Linked DNA regions of Homo sapiens: region 1 is linked to region 2. The links are contacts of gene promoters, found by promoter capture Hi-C in human tissues and cell types (Jung and others, 2019). All regions are on one chromosome and are shown on one strand. The core of a region is centred on a gene start or on the middle of the fragment in contact, and the rest is flanking DNA. Distances in the headings are between cores, read along the strand shown. Region 1 has its middle 70 kb from the start of MIR5683. Region 2 holds the start of PPP1R3G (protein phosphatase 1 regulatory subunit 3G).

The links. The method cuts DNA at HindIII sites, captures the fragments that hold promoters and counts their contacts. A contact is called where the count stands out against the background at its distance.
Region 1: a contact is called between a fragment that was not itself captured here and the fragment with the promoter of PPP1R3G in region 2, in 1 of the 25 tissues and cell types used here (aorta).

What each region holds. Positions count from the first base shown.
Region 1 is chr6:6,095,482-6,102,437 of GRCh38, forward strand. No RefSeq gene overlaps it. Among named protein-coding and RNA genes, the nearest start is that of MIR5683, 70 kb to the right of the region's middle. The HindIII fragment of the contact is 6,738 bases long and covers 1-5,801 here.
Region 2 is chr6:5,083,534-5,090,028 of GRCh38, forward strand. PPP1R3G (protein phosphatase 1 regulatory subunit 3G) reads left to right here and starts at 1,808. Exons shown (of 1, transcript NM_001145115.3): 1 at 1,808-5,954. The coding sequence starts at 1,953. The coding sequence ends at 3,029. The region is part of intron 3 of LYRM4-AS1 (LYRM4 antisense RNA 1); the gene reads left to right. It also overlaps a transcript of LYRM4 not described here. RefSeq lists silencers at 790-859, 890-1,169, 1,580-1,759, 2,010-2,109, 2,250-2,299 and 1 more and an enhancer at 2,090-2,779. The HindIII fragment of the contact is 9,723 bases long and covers 1-3,839 here.

The DNA of each region.
Region 1 (6,956 bases), core at 1,183-3,682, 1.0 Mb after region 2:
GTAGCTATATAGTCAGCCTTAAAATCAGATTATATAAATATATATTCTAACTTTGTTCTTTCTTTCAAGATGGTTTTGTGGATTTTAAGTCCTTTACATTGCCATATAAATTTTAGCATCAGCTTGTGAATTTCTATGTGATCCCATAAGGAATTTTTATTGAAATTGAATTCAATATATAGATCAACTTGAGGAGAATTGATTTAAGAATATTAAGACTTCCAAACCATGAACATTGTATATCTTTCCATCATTTAGGTCTTTAATTTTTCCTCAATACTGTCTTATAGTTTTTAGTGTAGAGATCTTTCTATATTTTGTGAAATTTATCTTTAATTATCTTATGCCTTAAAAGTGACTGTAAATAGATTTTAGAAACATTTTATTTTAGAAATTTTCTTGCTAGTGTATAGAAACACATTTCATTTTTGTATAAAGACCTTGTATCTTATGACTTTATTAAATTCACTTAACAGATTTAGTAGGTTTTTAATTTGCAAATTCTTTGGGATTTTGTAAGCGGAAGTCATGTCATCTATGAATAAAGGCATTTTTACTTTTTCTGTTTTAATTTATATGCCTTTTATTATTTTTTATTGCCCAAGTTAGGACCCCCATTTACAATGTTAAATAGATGCAGCAAGAGAGGATATACTTGCTTCGTTTCCAATTATAATAGGGGAGAGTTTAATCTTTCATTGTAAGTTATTCTGTTCCATATGAGTTTTGTTTTTTGTTTTCGCTTTTGTTTTTGAGACGGAGTCTCGCTCTGTTGACCAGACTGGAGTGCAGTGGCGTGATGTCGGCTCACTGCAAGCTCTGCCTCCAGGGTTCACGTCGTTCTCCTGCCTCAGCATCCCGAGTAGCTGGGACTACAGGTGTCCGCCACTACGCCGGGCTAATTTTTTGTATTTTTAGCAGAGACGGGTTTCACCGTGTTAGCCAGGACGGTCTTGATCTCCTGACCTCGTGATCCACCTGCCTCGGCCTCCCAAAGTGCTGGGATTACAGGCGTGAGCCACCGTGCCCGGCCCCATGTGAGTTTTTATAAGGTTGAGGAAGTTTGTCCCATTCCTACTTTGCAAATTAAAAAAATATATACATATTACCAGGGGTTTAGTTTGGCCAAGTGCCTTTTCTGTCTTTAGCGAGATGATCATATGTTTCTGGTTTGTTTGTTTTTTTTGTGACGTAGTTTTGCTCTTGTTGCCCAGGCTGGAGTGCAATGGCACGATCACAGTTCACTGCAAACTCCGCCTCCCAGGTTCAAGCGATTCTCCTGTGTCAGCCTCCCAAGTAGCTGGGATTACAGGCACCTGCCACCATGCCCGGCTAATTTTGTAGTTTTAGTAGAGACAGGGTTTCTCCATTTTGGTCGGGCTGGTCTCGAACTCCCGACCTCAGGTGATCTGCCCACTTTGGCCTCCCAACGTGCTGGCATTACAGGCGTGAGCCACTGCAACCCGCCATCATTTGTTGTTTCTCCTTAATTATATTAATGTGTAGATTTGCACATTGATTGATTCCCAAATGTTAAAGCAAATTTGCATTCCTTAAAAAAACTCTACTTAGTTGTGATATATTACCTTCTTTGTATATTTCTGGATTTGATTTACTAATATTTTGTTAAGGATTTTTGTGTCTATATTTATGAGGGATATTGGTCTACAATTTTATTTTTAAAAATTTCTTTGTCTGGTTTTCATATCAGGCTATTGCTGGCCTCATAAAATATGTTGAGAAGTATTCTATTTTACTATGTTTTCTAAAAAAGTTTGTGTAGAATTTGTGAATGTTTGATGAAATTTATTGGTAAAGTCAATGGTCTGGATTTATTTGTGTGTGTTTGAAAAGGCTTACTTACAAATTAAAGTTTTTGAGAAAATATAGGGTTATTTAGATTTTGTTTCTTCTCAAGTCAGTTTGGTAATTTGTGTTTTTCAATGTATTTGTTCATTTCATATAAGTTGTTAAATTTTTTGTCATGAAGTTGTTTTCCCCGCTTCTTTATTTTCCTTTATCTGTAAGATCTATAGTTATGTCTCCATTTTCTTTTCTGTTATTAATAATTTGTGACTTCTCTCCCTTTTCTTTGACCAATCTAGTAAGGATTTATCAATTTTATTAGTATTCTCTGAGAATCATCATATGATATTTTGATTTTAAAACATTGTCTATTTGCTATTTAATTTTTTTTTCTTTAACTTTTATTTTAGATTCAGGGTTAGACATGCAGGTTTGTTATACAAGTAAACTCGTGTCATGGGCGTTTGTTGTACAGATTATTTCATCACCCATGTACTAAATCTAGTACCCAATAGTTGTTTTTTTCTGTTCTTCTCCCTCCTCTCACCTTCCACCCTCAAGTAGGCCCCAATGACTATTGTTTCTGTCTTTGTGTTCATGTGTTCTCATCATTTAGCTCCCACTTATAAGTGAGAACACGTGGTATTTGGGTTTTTTTTTCATGCATTAGTTTGCTAAGAATGATGGCCTCCAGCTTCATCCATACTCCTGCAAAGGACATAAATTTATTCTTTTTTATGGCTGTGTAGTATTCCACAGTTTATATGTACCATATTTTCTTTATCTAGTCTACCATTGATTGGCATTTAGATTGAGTCCACATCTTTGCTATTGTGAATAGTGATGCAATGAATACATGCATGCATGTGTCTTTGTGGCAGAATGATTCATATTTCTTTGGGTACATACCCAGTTATAGGATTGCTGAGTTGAATGCTATTTCTGTTTTTAGCTCTTTGAGGAATTGCCACACTGCTTTCCACAATGGTTGAACTAATTTACACTCCCGTCAACAGTAGGTAAGCATTCTTTTTTTTTCCATAGCCTTTCCACCACCTGTTTGTTTTTTTTTAATAATAGTCATTCTGACTGGTGTGAGATGACATTTCATTGTGGTTTTGATGTACATTTCTCTAATTATCAGTGATATTGAGCCTTTTTTCATATGCTTATTGGCCATGTATATGTTTACTTTTGAAAAGTGCCCGTTCATGTCCTTTGTCCACTTTTTAGTGAGGTTGCTTTTTTTCTTGTAAATTCATTTAAGTTCCTTATAGATGCTGGATATTAGACTTTTGTCAGATGCATAGTCTGCAAATATTTTCTCCCATTCTGTAGGTTTTCTGTTTACTCTGTTTATAGTTTCTTTTGCTATGCAGAAGCTCCTAATTTGAATTAGATCCCATTTATCAATTTTTGCTTTTGTTGCGATTGCTTTTGGTGTTTTTGTCCTGAAATCTTTCCTAGTTCCTATGTCCAAAATAGTATTGCCTAGGTTGTCTTCCAGGGATTTCATAATTTTTAATATTATCCTTAATCCGTCTTTAGTTGATGTTTGTATATGGTATAAGGAAGGGTTCTAGTTTCCATTGTCTGCGTATAGCTAGCCAGTTTTCCCAGCACCACTTATGAAATAGGAAGTCCTTTACTCGCTGCTTGTTTTTGTCATCTTTGTGGAAGACCAGATGGTCGTAGGAGTGCAGCCTTATTTCTGGGCTCTCTATTCTGTTCCATTGGTCTATGTGTCTGTTTTTGTACCAGTACCACACTGATTTGGTTACTGTACCCTGTAATATAGTTTGAAGTCAGGTAATGTGATGCCGCCAGGTTTATTCCTCTTGCTTAGGATTGCCTTATTTATTAGAGCCCTTTTTTTGTTTCACATGAATTTGAAAATAGTTTTTCTAGATCTGTGAAGAACGTCACTGGGGCCGGGCACAGTGGCTCATGCTTGTAATCACAGCATTTTGGGAGGCCAAACTGGGCAGATCACCCAAGGTCAGGAGTTTGGACCAAGCTGGCCAGCATGGTGAAACCCCTTCTCTACTAAAAATACAAAAATTAGCCAGGCATGATGGCAGGTGCCTGTAATCCCAGCTACTTGGGAGGCTGAGGCAGGAGAATCGCTTGAACCGGGCTGGCAGAGGTAGCAGTGAACTGAGATCATGCCACTGCACTCCAGCGTGGGTGACAGAACGAGACTCCTCCTCAAAAAAAAAAAACTATGTCATCAGTAGTTTGATAGGAATAGCAATTAATCTGTAAATTGCTTTAGGAAGTATGGCCATTTAAACAATTTTAACAATATTGATTCTTTCTATCCACGAGCATGGAATGCTTTTCCATTTGTGTCTTCCCTGATTAATTTGAGCAAAGTTTATTATTATTATTATTATTATTATTATTATTATACTTTAAGTTTTAGGGTACATGTGCGCAATGTGCAGGTTTGTTACATATGTATACATGTGCCATGTTGGTGTGCTGCACCCATTAACTCGTCATTTAGCATTAGGTATATCTCCTAATGCTATCCCTCCCCCATCCCCCCACCCCACAACAGTCCCCGGAGTGTGATGTTCCCCTTCCTGTGTCCATGTGTTCTCATTGTTCAATTCCCACCTATGAGTGAGAACATGCGGTGTTTGGTTTTTCCTCCTTGCCATAGTTTTCTGAGAATGATGGTTTCCAGTTTCATCCATGTCCCTACAAAGGAAATGAACTCTTCATTTTTTCTGGCTGCATAGTATTCCATGGTGTATATGTGCCACATTTTCTTAATCCAGTCTATCATTGTTGGACATTTGGGTTGGTTCCAAGTCTTTGCTATTGTGAATAGTGCTGCAATAAACATACGTGTGCATGTGTCTTTATAGCAGCATTATTTATATCCTTTGGGTATATACCCAGTAATGGGATGGCTGGGTCAAATGGTATTTCAGTTCTAGATCCCTGAGGAATCACCACACTGAATTCCACAAGGGTTGAACTAGTTTACAGTCCCACCAACAGTGTAAAAGTGTTCCTATTTCTCCACATCCTCTCCAGCACTGGTTGTTGCCTGACTTTTTAATGATTGCCATTCTAACTGGTGTGAGATGGTATCTCATTGTGGTTTTGATTTGCATTTCTCTGATGGCCAGTGATGATGAGCATTTTTTCATGTGTTTTTTGGCTGCATAAATGTCTTCTTTTGAGAAGTGTCTGTTCATATCCTTCGCCCACTTTTTGATGGGGTCATTTGTTTTTTTCTTGTAAATTTGTTTGAGTTCATTGTAGATTCTGGATATTAGCCCTTTGTCAGATGAGTAGATTGTGAAAATTTTCTCCCATTTTGTAGGTTGCCTGTTCACTCTGATGGTAGTTTCTTTTGCTGTGCAGAAGCTCTTGAGTTTAATTAGATCCCATTTGTCAATTTTGGCTTTTGTTGCCATTGCTTTTGGTGTTTTAGACATGAAGTCCTTGCCCATGCCTATGTCCTGAATGGTAATGCCTAGGTTTTCTTCTAGGGTTTTTATGGTTTTAGGTCTAACATGTAAGTCTTTAATCCACCTTGAATTAATTTTTGTATAAGGTGTAAGGAAGGGATCCAGTTTCAGCTTTCTACCTATGGCTAGCCAGTTTTCCCAGTACCATTTATTAAATAGGGAATCCTTTCCCCATTGCTTGTTTTTCTCAGGTTTGTCAAAGATCAGATGGTTGTAGATATGTGGCATTATTTCTGGGGGCTCTGTTCTGTTCCATTGTTCTATATCTCTGTTTTGGTACCAGTGCCATGCTGTTTTGGTTACTGTAGCCTTGTAGTATAGTTTGAAGTCAGGTAGCGTGATGTCTCCGGCTTTGTTCTTTTGGCTTAGGATTGACTTGGTGATGCGGGCTCTTTTTTGGTTCCATATGAACTTTAAAGTAGTTTTTTCCAATTCTGTGAAGAAAGTCACTGGTAGCTTGATGGGGATGGCATTGAATCTATAAATTACCTTGGGCAGTATGGCCATTTTCACGATATTGCTTCTTCCTACCCATGAGCATGGAATGTTCTTCCATTTGTTTGTATCCTCTTTTATTTCTTTGAGCAGTGGTTTGTAGTTCTCCTTGAAGAGGTCCTTCACATCCCTTGTAAGTTGGATTCCTAGGTATTTTATTGTCTTTGAAGCAATTGTGAATGGGAATTCACTCATGATTTGGCTCTCTGTTTGTCTGTTATTGGTGTATAAGAATGCTTGTGATTTTTGTACATTGATTTTGTATCCTGAGACTTTGCTGAAGTTGCTTATCAGCTTAAGGAGATTTTGGGCTGCCACAATGGGGTTTTCTAGATATACAGTCATGTCATCTGCAAACAGGGACAATTTGACTTCCTCTTTTCCTAATTGAATACCCTTTATTTCCTTCTCCTGCCTAATTGCCCTGGCCAGAACTTCCAACACTATGTTGAATAGAGGTGGTGACAGAGGGCATCCCTGTCTTGTGCCAGTTTTCAAAGGGAATGCTTCCAGTTTTTGCCCATTCAGTATGATATTGGCTGTGGGTTTGTCATAGATAGCTCTTATTATTTTGAGATATGTCCCATCAATACTTAATATATTGAGAGTTTTTAGCATGAAGGGTTGTTGAATTTTGTCAAAGACCTTTTCTGCATCTATTGAGATAATCATGTGGTTTTTGTCTTTGGTTCTGTTTATATGCTGGATTACATTTATTGATTTGTGTATGTTGAACCAGCCTTGCATCCCAGGGATGAAGCCCACTTGATCATGGTGGATGTTTTATAGTTCTCATTGTCAAGATCTTTCACCTCCATGATTAGCTGTATTCCTAGGTACTTTATTCTTTTCATGGCAGTTGTGAATGGGACTGCATTCCTAATTTGGCTCTTGGGCTTGGCTGTTTTTGGTGTGTAGAAATGCTAGCGATTTGGGTATGTTGATTTTGTATCCTGAAACTTTGCTGAGGTTGTTCATTAGCTCAAGGAGCTTTTCAGCTGAGACTATGGGTTTTCTAGATATAAAATCATGTCATCTGCAAACAGAGATAGTTTGATTTCCTCTCTTCCTGTTTGGGTGCCTTTATTTCTTTCTCTTGCCTGATTGCTCTGGCCAGGACTTCCAATACTATGTTGAATAGGAGAGGTGAGAGAAGGTATCCTTGTC
Region 2 (6,495 bases), core at 558-3,057:
TTCCTCTAAGCTGCCTGGCTTCAAATCCCATGAAAGCCACCCTGTGGGGCCTTGGCGATGAGAAATCTTTCTGCAGTGTTGTGTCCTATATGTAGGCAGGAATGATGTGATTCCTATTTCATGGACAGGACATCCTGTAGGTGCTCAGTCAATCAATGTAAGCTCTTAACACGCTCCTCACCCACCATCTCTTTTGCCTGCCCTCTGCCAACATGGCTAAAACCCTGGCCCCTTTCAGTTCTGCCAAACCATGACATGTTTTAGTTATGAAGCCCCAATTAATTACGTTTCTTAATTAGTGGTTCTGTTTCTAGAATCCCCAACTTTCTATATAAGTAACTGAATACACATCCACATAGGTTTAAATACGGTCCCCAGAGCCCAGCATCAGCATCCCCTTGTTAGAAATACTTCCAGGCCCCAGCCCAAGCCCACTGAGTCACAAACGCTAGGGAGCTGGGAGCAGTGGGGGGCGCCTGTAATCCCAGCTACCTTAGAGGCTGAGGCGGGAGGACTGCTTGAGGCCGGGAATTTGAGACCAACCTGGGCAGCATAGCAAGACCCCTATCTCGAAAAAGTTAGAAAGAAGGAAACTCTGGGAGTGGGGCCCTGTGATGTGACAACGGGCCCCCGAGTGATGTCCGTGCATGCTGAAGTAGAATCACTGACTTAGATGGCCCTCAGGGTGGCCTTAAAACCAAAACAAGAAAAACACCACTTTTAGACGTTCCCCCAATCCCTAGGTACCACGACGCGCTTCCCCACCCCTCCCCGGCCTCAGGTTCGGGCCTTGGCCCCTGGCAAGGCCGGAGCAGCAGGGCGGTGACAGCGCAGTCCGGCGCGGGCCACGCCCCCACTCCCGGTGGGCGGGGAGGGTGCTTGGGGCGCTGGCGTCCGGTTGCGGTGGGAGGTGGTGCGTGCCGCGTGGGCGCCGGCCCCACGGGGCCCCCTCTCCGCCCTCCCTGCGGGATCCCGGGGCGCGGACTCGCGGGCGCGTCGGGCGGGACAGGGGGAGGGGCGGGACGTGCTCCCGGGCCTGGCGCGAATGGCCTCCGGCCGCTCTCGGCTGCGGGCCATGGCCGCTCCCCGGCGCGTCCCCACACGGTCCCCGCCCCAGTCTGGCCGCAGCCCACCCCGCGCCGCCACTGGGCAGATGGGGGCGGCGGCTCCTGCCTCCCGGCTTTCGGAAGAGCAGAGCGGAGCGCGCCTGACCGAGTCAGGCTTCCGAGTGGGATTGGAACCCGGGGCGCCCTGAAGTTTGGGGAAAGCAGGAGCAGAAGGGAAGGGATGCGCTCCCCGCTCTCCGGCGGCGCGGAATGGGCCTCCTTCCAGCCTCTGCGTAGGCAAGATTTCCCCAGTTGCGCGCTGCACCGGGGACTCCCCAGCCCGTGAGGCAGCCAAGAGGAGAGCGCTCAGTGACCCTCTGGGGGCAGAGCCGTCAGGCCAAGTTCATGGGCAGGAAGACTTTGTGCACGTGGGGGTCTCTGAAGGTTGAGCGCGAGCTCTGCACCCCCACTTCGAGGCACTCAAGAAGCGGAACAGACGCGAGCCCCGCCGGGGGTGCGGGTGAGGGCTGCAGGGAGCCCGCGAACGACAGAAAGTCGCCCCCCGCATTCCACCGGAGCACTCGGGAACACGGCTTCCAGGTGTCCCAGCGGCCGCGCCTCCCCGCCCCCGGCCCTCCCCCGTCGCGGGCAGGTTCAACCGGGAGGCGGCGTGGCCCCGGAGCCGGCCCCAGGCCCGCATCCTCCTCCCACTTCGCCCTGGGCAGCCGCAGCTAAAAGCCGGAGGCTCCAAAGTGGAACTACGTTGTCTTGTCGAGCCTGGGGCGACTCGCCTCGGGGAGGGCGAGCCTGAACTGCAGCCCTGCGCTCCTTCCACGGCCCGAGGAGTTAGTTAAGTCTCCAGAGGGGCCCGGTTCGGCCCGAGCAAGTCCAGGGGCGAACGGCGTCATGGAGCCCATAGGGGCGCGGCTAAGTTTGGAGGCGCCGGGACCAGCGCCCTTCCGAGAGGCCCCGCCGGCCGAGGAGCTGCCCGCCCCGGTGGTCCCCTGTGTGCAGGGTGGCGGCGACGGCGGTGGCGCTTCGGAGACCCCGAGTCCTGACGCTCAGCTAGGGGATAGGCCCCTGTCCCCGAAGGAAGAGGCCGCCCCCCAGGAGCAGGAGGAGCTGCTGGAATGCCGCCGCCGCTGCCGCGCGCGCTCCTTTTCCTTGCCCGCCGACCCCATCTTGCAGGCGGCCAAGTTCCTGCAGCAGCAGCAGCAACAGGCGGTGGCACTGGGCGGCGAGGGGGCGGAGGACGCACAGCTCGGCCCGGGCGGCTGCTGCGCCAAGTGCAAGAAGCGGGTGCAGTTCGCGGACACGCTGGGGCTAAGCCTGGCCAGCGTGAAGCACTTCAGCGAGGCGGAGGAGCCGCAGGTGCCGCCCGCCGTGCTCTCGCGCCTCCGAAGCTTCCCTATGCGTGCCGAGGACCTGGAGCAGCTCGGGGGGCTGCTGGCCGCGGCGGCAGTGGCCGCGCCCCTTTCAGCGCCGCCTTCCCGGCTCCGGCCGCTCTTCCAGCTCCCGGGGCCGAGCGCCGCGGCCGAGCGTCTGCAGCGGCAGCGCGTGTGCCTGGAGCGCGTGCAGTGCTCGACGGCCTCGGGCGCTGAGGTGAAGGGCTCCGGCCGGGTGCTCAGCTGCCCTGGGCCCAGGGCCGTGACCGTGCGCTACACCTTTACCGAGTGGCGCTCCTTCCTGGACGTGCCGGCTGAGCTGCAGCCCGAGCCGCTGGAGCCACAGCAGCCAGAGGCACCGTCTGGGGCCTCCGAGCCAGGGTCCGGGGATGCCAAGAAAGAGCCAGGCGCCGAGTGCTTCCACTTCTCGCTGTGCCTGCCCCCGGGCCTGCAGCCTGAGGACGAAGAGGACGCCGACGAGCGCGGCGTCGCGGTCCACTTCGCTGTCTGCTACCGCTGCGCGCAGGGCGAGTACTGGGACAACAACGCGGGCGCCAACTACACGCTGCGCTACGCGCGCCCTGCGGACGCGCTCTGAGCCTGGAGAGTTTCGAAGAGCCGTGGGGCGGGGTTGATTAGCACGTGGAGCTCGGGCTGCCGCCTCAAGGAACTTGCTGGGACGCTTTGCTGAGCGTGGCGAGTCTGGCGTGAGGGGCGCGTGGAGGGAAAGGAGGGAGACTTTGAACCGTCGACTCGCACCCCCGCAGACAAGTGAGCGAGCTTAGAGAGCCCGGGCAATGCTCCGAAAGCCTCTGACCTCAGTCTTCTCGTCCGTTTGACCTTCCTACAAGGCCTCTAGAATTCCCAGCCTGCGTCAGAATAGGAAGAAACTTCCAAGGCCCGGAGCAGCTGCCTCCAAGAAAAAGGCTCCCAACTCCCGGGCATGGTTCTAAGGCCTTGGGATTGGTTTTTAACTCTAAATATCATATTGTAGCCCTTGCAGTTTGCTGGAGACCCCTAGGGAAAGAACAAAGCGTCCTGCCACGGTGCACCAGAGGAAGGTGCCACGGACTGTGGGTGCACGCGTGGGACCTTTACACCCCAACCTATTTCTCAGAGAAAACCCTTCGGGGCTGGGCCAGGCCACCCTTTTCTTTTGACTGAGATGTGGGTAATGTGTGCCCAGACTTGACGTTGTTTATTGTGCGACATTGTGTACAAATGTCCTTTATAAAAGTAAAGGCCACTCGCACCCCCTTTTACGCTGTACTCTGAATTTTGGCTTTCGTGAGTTTGGGGAGGCATTGGCAGTCGGCCGATCTTTGTCAGCTGATGATGTGCGCACTTTAACAATCCTTAAACAACAGCCTACAAATTCCTCCCCTTCGTTCCTTCCTCTCTACTGCGAAAGGGCCCAAACTTCCCATGTGCTTTAAAATGTTCTGTAGAAAGTGTTCCGTCCCCCTCCGAATTAAGACGTTTGGTGAATTGAAATGCCAGTCCTCGGGCAGGCCCTGGCTGTGATCTGCGAGAGCCGGGCACGCACGCCCCGGCGCCCTTTGTGTAGGCAGAGCACACTGTTAGGAGACTTGCCGGGCCATTAGCAGTCAGAGAAGCTGGGCCCTTTTAGTCGCTGGACTGCCAGCGCAGGGGATGGGGGATGGGAAAGTGGCTTTCTGTTCCTCTCAGAGCCACAGTGGGGAGTGGTGACTTGATGGAAGAGGAGGCATGCCCAGCGAGTCAGTGCTGCGCAGACGCAGATGGCCACCTCTGCAGGCCCGTTGGGTGGGGTATGGACGGCCTTGGTCGCTGTGCTGGCTGTGGATGCCAGGATGATGTGGCCCTCTGTGCATGGGTGGGCAGGAGGGCATCCCGAGTAAGGTCTGTCGCCCCTTGACTCTGCCTCAGTGATTTCCCTTTTTTTAAGTCTTCCCATTTTCCAGCACATGGCGAGTACAGTCAGTCGTTTTAGGGATGGTAGTCTCTAAGGAGGGACAGTTTCACTGTTGCTTGATAGAACAGGGCTGGGCATACGTACATTTGGCCCATGGGCCAAATTTGGCACACAGCTTATTCTTGTAGGGCCTGTGACCTAAGAATAGTTTTTACATTTTTATTTTTAATTTAATTTTCTTATTATTATTTTTCGAGACGGAGTTTCACTCTTGTCGCCCAGGCTGGAGTGCAATGTGCGATCTTGGCTCATTGCAACCTCCGCCTCCCAGGTTCAAGCGATTCTCCTGCCTCAGCCTCCAGAGTAGTTGGGAGTACAGGCATCTGCCACCACACCTGGCTAATTTTTGTATTTTTGGTAGAGACAGGGTTTCACCATGTTGGCCAGGCTAGTCTTGAACTCCTGACCTCAGGTGATCCACCCGCCTTGGCCTCCCAAAGTGCTAGGATTATAGGCGTGAGCCACCTCACCTGGCCTTACATTTTTAAATTGTTGAAAAAAATTCAAAAGAAAGTACTATTTGGTGGCACGTGAGAATTATATAAAATATATATTTCAGTGTTCACAAATCAGGTTTTACTGGAACACAGCCGTGCACACTCATTTCTGTCTTCTCTGTGCTGCTTCCATGCTACCGCAGCAGAGTGGAGTAGACACAGCAGAGACCAGATGGCAAAGTGTAAAATATTTACTATCTGGCCCTTTTACAAAAGGCTGGCCAACCCCTGCTCTAGGGAAGTAGTGTTTTTTAAACACAATATGCTGACAATTATAGTTAATAAAGCATTTAGACTTTAGTGAGCTTTTGCCACTTGAAATAAACCCCCTTTGGGTAAAGGTAAAGCTTTATATGACTCTCAGTAATCTTGTTTAGAATAAACACGAAAATGTGAAAAGTGCGGTTATCATTGTGTCAGGCAGGGGAATCTACCTGTTGCCTTCTTTCACCTAAAAAAATAGTAACACATCAGTGCAACTGAAACATAGCACCCGTTTGAATTGGCTTCAAACTACAAAGCTGCCAGATATTTCTCTGTGCTTCAAAATGTGGCATCTTACACAATGGAAGTATTTAGTTTGAACTTTGGGTTGGAGATATCCCTTTGACTATGGCAGTGTTTCCCAAAGTAAACTGATCATAGGAAAAAAATAATTTATTGACAGCAAGCCATCAGGAGTTAACATATTACAATTTAGACTTTTAAAAATGGTCAATGGTCATATCAATGAACTAATGAATACTTAATTCATATATGCTTATAAAAACTTTGACGAAAAATAAATGATAAAATGAAACAATTTTTCTGTTACTAAATATAAAAGCTATGAAGCCTTCTGATGCATCATCAGGTAATCTTGGTCTGATATACCATTTCTTAAAAGTACATTATTGCATAACCATATTTTTCCGATATATTTATAAATACATTAATTTTTAAGATATTGACAGTATACATATGCTATAACATTGTTTGAAAATGCTTGTTTGTGGGGCAATAAAGCAACATTTTGAATTGTTTTGAATTACTTAAAATTAAATGAGGAGCCCAATATAATGATTCAAACAGAGATCTTTGTGTCTAGTATCCTTTAAAATGGTAACCCATTAAATCTGGACTCAAACAAGAGAAATAGATTTTTAGTGGTATGTACAGAAGACTTTCTATTCTGTCATAACACCATTACTGATTTTCAAAACTATATTTTAAAGTTCAAATGATTCATTTTAAAAGAAACTATTTCATAATATAATGAGCATCCAGTATGGCTGCTAGGAAAGGAAACCTAGTTTTGCTCTCCTCCCAGTCTCAGAGACTAGTGCGTCAAATGTTCATAATTTGGTAAAATATTTTAAACAGCCCAGTATTTCACCAATGTGTGTAGCCTTTCCAAAGCATTAGCACTGGCAATCTTTTGAATGTCCATTTTGTTTTATAAAAGTGCCAACTTCTCATTGTAGACTAATAGCAAACATTATGCAGTGAAATGTAAAGGTAATAAAAATAGGTTTTCTTTGTTTTTGAAAAGTTATTTCAAAGGAAAGGGCAATACGACCAGAGTGAGGAAGTATTTAAGAGTGTATTTCCTGAAAGGAAGACACACACACACA